Regions from separate parts of the Homo sapiens genome. Here region 1 is linked to region 2. Evidence: promoter capture Hi-C in 16 types of primary human blood cells and fetal thymus (Javierre and others, 2016). All regions are on one chromosome and are shown on one strand. Each heading gives the region's core, a stretch centred on a gene start or on the middle of the fragment in contact. The rest is flanking DNA. Distances are from core to core; before and after follow the strand shown. Region 1 overlaps UTP14A (UTP14A small subunit processome component). Region 2 holds the start of ZNF280C (zinc finger protein 280C).

Region 1 (4,563 bases), core at 191-2,690, 340 kb after region 2:
TTATATAGGTTTAATTGGGACTGCAGTAGTTATGATTCAGTTTCTGCAGTGATTGGTTCACAAAATAAGATCAAAAAGAATGTTATTGAAATGTGTATCTTCTTACCTCTGTTCTGTAGCCATTAATTCTTTATTCCTTCCGAGGGAAAAATGTAACTCATTTCAATATACTGGCTGGGGACAGATCTCAGAATTGAAGGGAACATAAAGGTCATCTAGTCCAATCTCGTTCTTGAGTCCCCTTTACACATTCTCATACTCCCAGAGCAGCCTTGAATTCTGTATGTCCTCTAACTTCTACTTTATGTGACTTCATACAATAACCTTCGATATACTTGAACACCGTAATCACGCTCAAATTTTCTTCTCTTGTAAACATCCCTAGCTCATTATCATGTGACACAACTTACAATCTTCTCATTCTCCTGAACAAGTACCGGTTTGTCTTCATTTTTCTTAAGCTACAGCTTAAACCTTATAGCCTCTGTTTGAGCATTACCTTGACTCTAAACTTTTTTCCTGGCCAGTAATTAAAACAGCGTAGTCTATCTGAAATGATAAATCTAACAGCCATTCAGTGAAAACAACAGATTTGATTCTGCGGTCAAGATCACACGTCTCTCTTGACTACAGATCACTAGAATACTCCTCTCAAGCAAGAGAGCCAGGCAGTAACAAGCAGGCAGCTAAAGAGCTCTCTAAGCTCTCACCTGATGAGCAGCTGCGTGGATGTTGCGCTTCTCATTGATAATCACATTTGGCAAATTCTTATCTTTTCTTGGAGGACCCTCAGGGGCTTTAATGAGAAACCTGGAAAGCAAAACAACAGGACATCTGACTAGGAGCATTAAGGACTTAGTCAAAAGGGTAGGGAGGACACCGAAGGGCGAGGGGAGAACCCGGTGCCCTTTTGACAGACTTTCTTCGGCATTCTTACCGGCGTCTTTTCTTGGCACTGGGCTTTAGGCCCACACCACCCCACTCGCCCCAGCCAGGTAGTGTCAGGTCCACGTCCTTTGGCTTACTCGCCTCCACAGCTTCCCTCTTCTCTTTCAAGAAATCTCTGATGACATCATCCCCAGCAAAAGCTTCCTTTATCATCTGCCTATGGTTTCTCTCCTCTTCATCTTCCTGGGAAGAAACAAGCGAGAGCTACAGCTTGGCTTATGAGCTGTGGTTCATGGCGAGAACGCTTGAATTTCGGGTCGTGACATTTTAGCGCCCCCTAGGGGGAAGTGCTGAACAATGATGGTCTTGCGATACAAACCAGTGCACAGCCAATCATGCTCAAATTTTCTTCCCTCTAGGGTAAATATCCCTAGCTCATTATCATATGACACAATTTTAAACTTTTCAGTAAGGAAGCTGCAGGGTGGAGGAAGGAATGGCCCGTGTTAGCAGCAGGAGCTCTAAGTGGCCAGACTGTAGGCTTCCTCCAGCTTATATCCCTGAAAAGACAGGTGCCAGGACGCTTCACTTTAAGTTTCAGATTAACTGGGGAGTCTTAGACCATCTGAGATCCCACTGAATAAAACTTTCGCAACAGTTCAATGACTCACCTTCAAGTTGTCCTGCCTGGGATCTGGTCAGAACTCTGAGTTACTCCCTCTTACCTCTGAGAGCAGTTTTAGAGTCACCCCAGAGGAGTTTTTGTGGATCAGGCTTTCGGAAATAGGGGTCTTGGCAGCACCCATATATCTGCATCTATTAAAACGTCACTGGGACTAGCCTGGCCCTATACTATTCTGGACCTCTAAACTACTGAAATGTGCCCCCAGCAAAACAAAGCTTCATTACTCCTTGCGCAAGAACGACACTTTCTGAACAATGGCCCACCACCCTGGCTCTGCTCACCAGCTCCTCTATTGTGGGAACTGCCAAAGACTTCACGGAGGGAGATTGTGTGGTTAGGAGGTTCTGTAGGTCGATCATTTGCTCCTTCTTTTTCTTCTCCTTAGGGGCATCAGGGCGATTATTTGGGGTCCTCTCTGACTGCTGCCCTTCTAACACAGGTCTGGGAAGCTCCTTATTTTGAAAACATTCTTCTTTTCCCAGCTCTTCTAGCTCTTCCAGCGTCTGTACTCTCTCTGGTCTCTGTAGCAACAGGGGCTCCTCTTCTTCTGGGGCAGGTTCCTCTCTCTGGACCTGGGGAATAGTCCCCTCTGAACTTGCTTTTTGCTTCCTGGACTGATGGTTTTCCTTCAATTTCTGAGATAGTACTCTCAATTCAGACAGCACCTCCTGGCTGCCAGAATCTGGGGGAAAAAAGAATGAAAACTGTCAGAAAATGAGGTTTGTACGTTGTCTGGTCGGTAAGCATTTGTTGAGCACCCACCAAGTGCTAGGTACCACATAAGACATTATAAAAAGGACAAACGGGGAAAAGAAGATTCTGTACATTGAATCTCCTAGACAGTACACTAATCATAGCAGGCAACGGAGTTTGGTAATTAAAAGTAGCATGTGGCCAGGTGCGGTGGCTCACACCTGTAATCCCAGCACTTTGGGAGGCCGAGGCGGGCAGATCATGAGGTCAGGAGATCGAGACCATCCTGGCTAACACGGTGAAACCCCATCTCTACTAAAAATACAAAAAATTAGCTGGGCATGGTGGCATGTGCCTGTAGTCCAGCTACTCAGGAGGCTGAGGCAGGAGAATCACTTGAACCAGGGAGGCAGAGGTTGCAGTGAGCCGAGATTGTGCCACTGCACTCCAGCCTAGGTGACAGAGCGAGACTCCGTCTCAAAAAAAAAAAAAAAAAAAAAGTAGCATGTGAGATGTTGGATATGGTGGCTCACGCCTGTATGCCAGCACTTTGGGAGGCCAAGGGGGCAGGATAGCTTGAGCCCAGGAGTTCGAGACCAGCCTGAACAACATAGTGAGAACTCATCTCTACCACCTCCACCCCTCCAACAACAACAAAAAATTTCCAGGCATGGCGGTGTGGATCTGTAGTCCCACCTACTTGGGAGGCTAAGCTGGGAGGATTGCTGGAGCCAGAAGGTCAAGGCTGCAGGAAGCTGTGACTGTGCCACTGCATACTAGCCTGGGCAACAGGGCAAGACGTCTCAAAAAAAAAAAAAAAGTAGCATATTGGAAGCAGACGTCCTGGGTCCTATTCCCAGCTTTGCCAATGATCCACTGTATAACTGGGACTGTGGCTTAAGTTCCTCGTGCAGTAAACCCTGCTTGGGAAGATTGCCCCAAGTTCCAAATTTTAAAAAAGGAAGCCACTTTAACAGGTGGCTTCTCAATGTAACTTCATTGTAATTTATGCTTCACTGCTTGTAAAAACCCTATCCAGGATTTTCATCTTGACTCAAGAATTTCTACTCCATATCTTAAAGCAGTATTTCATAATCTGCTGTGGCTGAGTCAAGGGATGAAGTAGCTGCTTTATCCAGTGGATGTAGCTCACACTTTCACTGGCAACATCTGAGCAAATAACACTAGTCTCAAGAGTCTGGAGGGGCTGGCTTGGCACAGTGGCTCACACCTGTAATCCCAGCACTCTGGGAGGCCGAAATGGGTGATTCACTTGAAGCCAGGAGTTTGAGACCAGCCTGACCAACATGGCAAAACCCTGTCTCTACTAAAAATACAAAAATTAGCTGGGCGTGGTGGCATATGCCTGTAATCCCAGCTACTTGCAGGCTGAGGCAGGAGGATTGCTTGAACCTGGGAGGTGGAGCTTGCAGTGAGCCGAGGTTGCACCACTGCACTCCAGCCTGTATGACAGAGACCTGTCTCAAAACAGTCTGGAGGGAAACCTGGCAGTGACATGCTTCTAAACTGTCTTTTTCATTGACTCAAGTTGCCTCCATTCCCAAGTTGATCCTGCTGTCTAGCTTTGGCATGAAGCCATTGTAGCTCCTTAGATCTGGCCTTTGGACACATGTACGTTTATTTCTCAAGAATCAGGTTTCCTTGCTCATTTTCACTGGGGTCCGTGGCTTTCCAGTATTTTAGGACACTCTTGGAAGGTGTGAGAAAATTCAATTTATTTACTGTCCAAGGAAATGCAAATCTATCTTTCATTCTTTCATATCACAGTCAGCCGCTCTGCACATTTAGCTAGATGGCCAGTTGTTGAGGGGGCTCAAGAGAAAGCCACTAGGGTCCTGTGGTCATATATGTACACCCCCACAATCTCAGCCCGCTGTGCTGCTTTCCAAAATTCTCTCAGAAGTGACTACTTGCAATTATTAATCCCAAAAATATCCAGCCAAAACTATTAAGTAAAGGTCCCTATAATATATTCTAAATGATAGCTCTTTTAAAATAAATTTTTGTATGTGGAAACCTGAAAAAAAAAAAGGAAAAAAAAAAGGAGGCTGGGTGCGGTGGCTCACACTTGTAATCCTAACACTTTGGGAGGCTGAGGTGAGAGGATAGCTTGAGGCCAGGAATTCAAGACCAGCCTGGGCAACAGAGCAAGACCTCAGTCTCTACAAAAACTTAGCTCAGCATGGTGGCACGTGCATGTAGTCCCAGCTAGTTGGGAGGCTGAGCCAAGAGGATCGCTTGAGCCTGGGAGGTCTTAGGCTGCAGTAAGGTATGAT
Region 2 (4,328 bases), core at 89-2,588:
GAGGCCGAGGCAGGCAGATCACCTGAGGTGGGGAGTTCGAGACCAGCCTGACCAACATGGAGAAACCCCGTCTCTACTAAAAATACAAAATTAGTCGGGTGTGGTGGCGCATGCCTGTAATCCCAGCTACTCGGGAGGCTGAGGCAGGAGAGTCACTTGAACCCGGGAAGCGGAGGTTGCGGTGAGCCAAGATCACGCCATTGGACTCCTGCCTGGGCAACAAGAGCGAAACTCCGTCTCAAAAAAGAAAAAGAGAGATGAACCAGTACTGCTATAAACCTTGTGGAGAAATTTGGGAGAAGAAACTTTTACAGTTCAAAGCACAATGTCTAGAAAATGTTTCTGTAAGCAGTATTTTGGCAAGTGTTTTTCTTGTAAATGTATTTACAAGTTCCAGTGATTCTCCCGCCTCAGCCTCCCAAGTAGCTGGGATTACAGGCATGTGCCACCACACCCTGCTAATTTTGTATTTTTAGTAAAGATGGGGTTTCACTATGTTGGTCAGGCTGACTGGGGTTCAGAGAAGGAGGAGGAGAAAGGCGAGGAGGAAAGGGAAGTGGTCTCAAACTCCTCACCCCAGGTGATCCACCCACCTCAGCCTCCCAAAGTGCTGGAATTAGAAGTGTGAGCCACCGCGGCCAGCCCACGGACGGACGGCTGGTACTTACATGTGCACAAGTGCAGCTACTTTACTTACCGTCGAAGGCAGCGGAGGAAGTGTAATTGACTAGCGTGGATGCAGCTTTTCTAAGCAAACGCTCGATTTAACCTGGAGTTGTCATCCCACAAAATACATTGTACCTGACTACAGAGAAACATGAATTCTGGGTCTTCCTTGTGTGTAAGAGTAAATGTATTTTTCCTTAGCATTTTTTGTACCTACTATAGGCATCCATATGGCAATTAGAAGTAACAGAGAGACAAGCAAAACCATATGTTTAAAACAAAAGGTAAAAATAACTAGTATTTTGAGACGTGTTTCAAGTACAGTATTTCCAGAAAACAATATATTTATATTTTTAACTCGTGTCTTTAGCCCTCACACACAAGGAAGACCCAGAATTCATGTTTCTCTGTAGTCAGGTACAATGTATTTTTTGGGATGACAACTCCAGGTTAAATCGAGCGTTTGCTTAGAAAAGCTGCATCCACGCTAGTCAATTACACTTCCTCCGCTGCCTTCGACGGTAAGTAAAGTAGCTGCACATGTGCACATGTAAGTACCAGCCGTCCGTCCGTGGGCGGTTAAAAGGCCCCGGATGTTCAGGGGGTGGAGTCGGCGTCTACCCATGAGGCAGCGCGTGCAGTTATATACTTCTGCCCCCGGCTGAGACGCCGGTTCCGCGCTGGAAGTCTCCGGGGGAGTCGCTGTTGCTGAGGCTGTCGCCTGAGGTTTTTCGCGCTCCTCCCTTTCCTCCTCCTCTTTCTCCTCCTCCTTATCCGAACCCCAGTCAGACCGATCTGCTCTGCTCTCGGTAAGCGGCCCCCGCCCCCGCCTGTGCCGCGCGGAAGGAGGCAGCAGCTCTCCCGCGCGGCCGAGGCAGCCTTCCCCAGAGGGCGGTTCTGAGGGCGGCTGGCTGAGGGTCTCTATGCCGGTGCGGATCGACGGGGGTGCGGGGGAGGGGACAGGCTTGGCGGCGTGGTAGCTGGTGGGCCACCATCTTGCGCCGGGCCCTGAAGGGGGAGGGTTTTCTGGAGGTAGAGCCTGGCGGCCCGCGGCGGGCAGTGGTTTCGCGGGCCGCGGCAGCTGCGGCAGCCTTCTCACCTCCTGAGTCCTGTCGGTCTGTTTCCAACCCGGTTTGGGCTTTTCATTCTGGAGGCAACTCCCTTTCGTCTTTTGTACGGTTGATACTGATGTTTGACGGAGACCCGCCCACCCTCAAGTCTCTTCAATCAAACGAAAAGAGACTTGAGGGGATTCCGAACTTTCAGGCATCAGAGACCCTGTGACCCCTTCTTTCTGCGCAGGTTCCCCCCACACAGGACCGGTCATTCCATGCCCACAACCTTGTTCTGGCCAAAGGGACTTCCCTTCTCTGTCACAGAAATCGTGCTCTATTCCGTTATTGTCTAGAGGATAAGAGCCCTGAGGAGAAACGTGGAGTTAAATACACTATATTCTAACTAGGAGGTTTGCAGGTTTTACTTAAAGAGATGGAAAAAATTATGCTGAGGTATACTCCTGCTCTAGAGATGGAGGGAGTTCCTTTCAACTTCTCTCAGGTTTTAATGCTTTTTTAAGGAGAAATTCGAGAGGAAATTGTCAAGTGAACCAGCTTCTGCAAGCACGGGAGACCTTCATCCAGGGGATTCTCTTTGTTTGGAAAGATTTGTTAGTTTTGTGGAGTTTTTTAAATCTGCGACCTTAAATTTTTTTTACTATTGTTTTCAGGTTTGGACTATGAGTTGTAATGTCTTTTAGTGCCCCTAAACATAAAATAGAAACCTAGAAGTAGAGTTTTAAACTGCAAAAGTCTCCTCTTAGTATTTGTGAGGTGTCCTGGTTTGGGGGTTACTGTGCAAACTTAATCTCCTTACGCAGAAACTTCACTGAGCCTACAAAGGCACTGATTTGCTTGTAAAATTAGGGCTGTGTACCTTTGATGTTTCTACAGCAGTACAGATTCCATTATAATCGTATCTTGCATTTGTATATTTCATTGGTAGCACCCCTTTTGAGATGGGCTGTAGGGTGTCGTTAGAACTGTTTGAAGATGAGGAAACAGCCTCAAGGACAGAACTTTACCGAGGTCATGTGCCTAGGAAGTGATGGAACCAATTCTTAAACCTAGGCTTTCTGACCCTCATCCAATGTTCAATTTGGTATATTATGTCTCACTTTTTGTGAGAGTGAGGTGGTCACGGAGAATAAGCAAGGAGGCTCACTTAAAAGTTTTAAGAAGTATTATTCAATTCCTTTTTCCTTTATATTTTTATTTTTAAGGCTTCATTTTTTTTCGACTTTTTCATACTTTAATATTATTTCTAAGCATGTTGAAGAGTTGAAGAATATCCTATTGAAAAAGTTCTTAGGTTGAATAACTCCAAATCTCAGCTACTTGGTTTTCAGTGAGTTTGTCTTAAGTAGTGATTCAAAAAGATTTGATTTCCTCAGTAATTTTTTTTTTTTTTTTTTGAGACGGAGTCTCGCAATGTCGCCCGGGCTGGAGTGCAGTGGCGCGATCTCAGCTCACTGCAACCTCTGCCTCCCGGGTTCAACCGATTCTGCTACCTCAGCCTCCTAAGCAGCTGGGGTTACAGGCCCTTGCCACCACGCCCGGCTAATTTTTGTAATTTTAGTAGAGATGGGGTTTCACTATGTTGGCCAGGCTGGTCTGGAACGCCTGACCTCGTGATCCACCCACCTCGGCCTCCCAAAGTGCTGGGATTACAGGAGTGAGCCTCCATGCCCAGCCTTCCTCAGTAATTTGAATCAAATATATACGTCTAGACTTTTTTTCCCAGTGCTCTGTACATTCAGAGAAACATCACTAGTAATGAACTGTAGAAATGACTCCTGAAAGTAGAGTATTCGTCTAGACTTTATTCATTTGCTGCAAAGTAGTTTTCTTTTAAGGAGTTTTTTTTTTCATTTTTTTGTTTCCTTTTTAACTTTTTATTGGCAAATGATAATTGTGCGTATTTATGGGGTACAATGTGATGTTTTGATATGTATACATTATTGAAAGAGGCTAACATAGCCATCACCTTACCAATTTATCATTTTGTTATGAGAATGTTAGAAATTATTTTAGCAATTTTGAAATATACAATACATTATTAGTATTAGCTGTGGTCACCTTGTAGTGCAATAGATAACTAAAACTTATTCCTCCCATCTAATTAAACTTCGTACTCTTGGATCAACATCTTTTCCCCATCTGTCCCACCCCTGAACTCCCAAGTCTCTGGTAACCATCTTTCTACTCTCTGTTTCTATGAGATAAAGTTGTTTAGATTCCACATGTGAGATCATACAGCATTTTTCCCCAGAGAATAAGAGAATCCAGCTGCTTTTTATTAAGATAAATATTAAAGACATTTGCAAAAATGTAAATCAATATTACTTTTCTCATTAAATTTGTTTTTTAAAAGTTATTCTCATTAAAAGTATTTTTATTAACTTGTAATGGGCTTATAAATATTTTAAATAAAAACATTTGAAATCTGTCTCAGTTTCAATTTCTAATATGGGAAATATCAACACATATTGTCCATATAAACATAAAGCTCATTGGGGTTCTCATTAAGTTTTAAGTGAAAAGAAATCCTGGGATAAAAGAGTTTGAGAACTACTGATGTGATGCAGTTTATTTATGATATGATTT

The links. The method cuts DNA at HindIII sites, captures the fragments that hold promoters and counts their contacts. A CHiCAGO score of 5 or more calls a contact.
Region 1: a contact is called between a fragment that was not itself captured here and the fragment with the promoter of ZNF280C in region 2, in 2 of 17 cell types (activated CD4 T cells and naive CD8 T cells). The highest score is 5.7, in activated CD4 T cells.

What each region holds. Positions count from the first base shown.
Region 1 is chrX:129,922,487-129,927,049 of GRCh38, reverse strand. It overlaps UTP14A (UTP14A small subunit processome component), which reads right to left. Exons shown (of 15, transcript NM_006649.4): 12 at 1,855-2,255; 13 at 938-1,131; 14 at 711-810. The region is part of intron 2 of LOC105373335 (a long non-coding RNA gene); the gene reads left to right. Among named protein-coding and RNA genes, the nearest start is that of UTP14A, 19 kb to the right of the region's middle. RefSeq lists a silencer at 1,267-1,316. The HindIII fragment of the contact is 700 bases long and covers 1,091-1,790 here.
Region 2 is chrX:130,265,909-130,270,236 of GRCh38, reverse strand. It overlaps ZNF280C (zinc finger protein 280C), which reads left to right and starts at 1,338. Exons shown (of 19, transcript NM_017666.5): 1 at 1,338-1,475. RefSeq lists a silencer at 1,558-1,637. The HindIII fragment of the contact is 6,334 bases long and covers 1-4,328 here.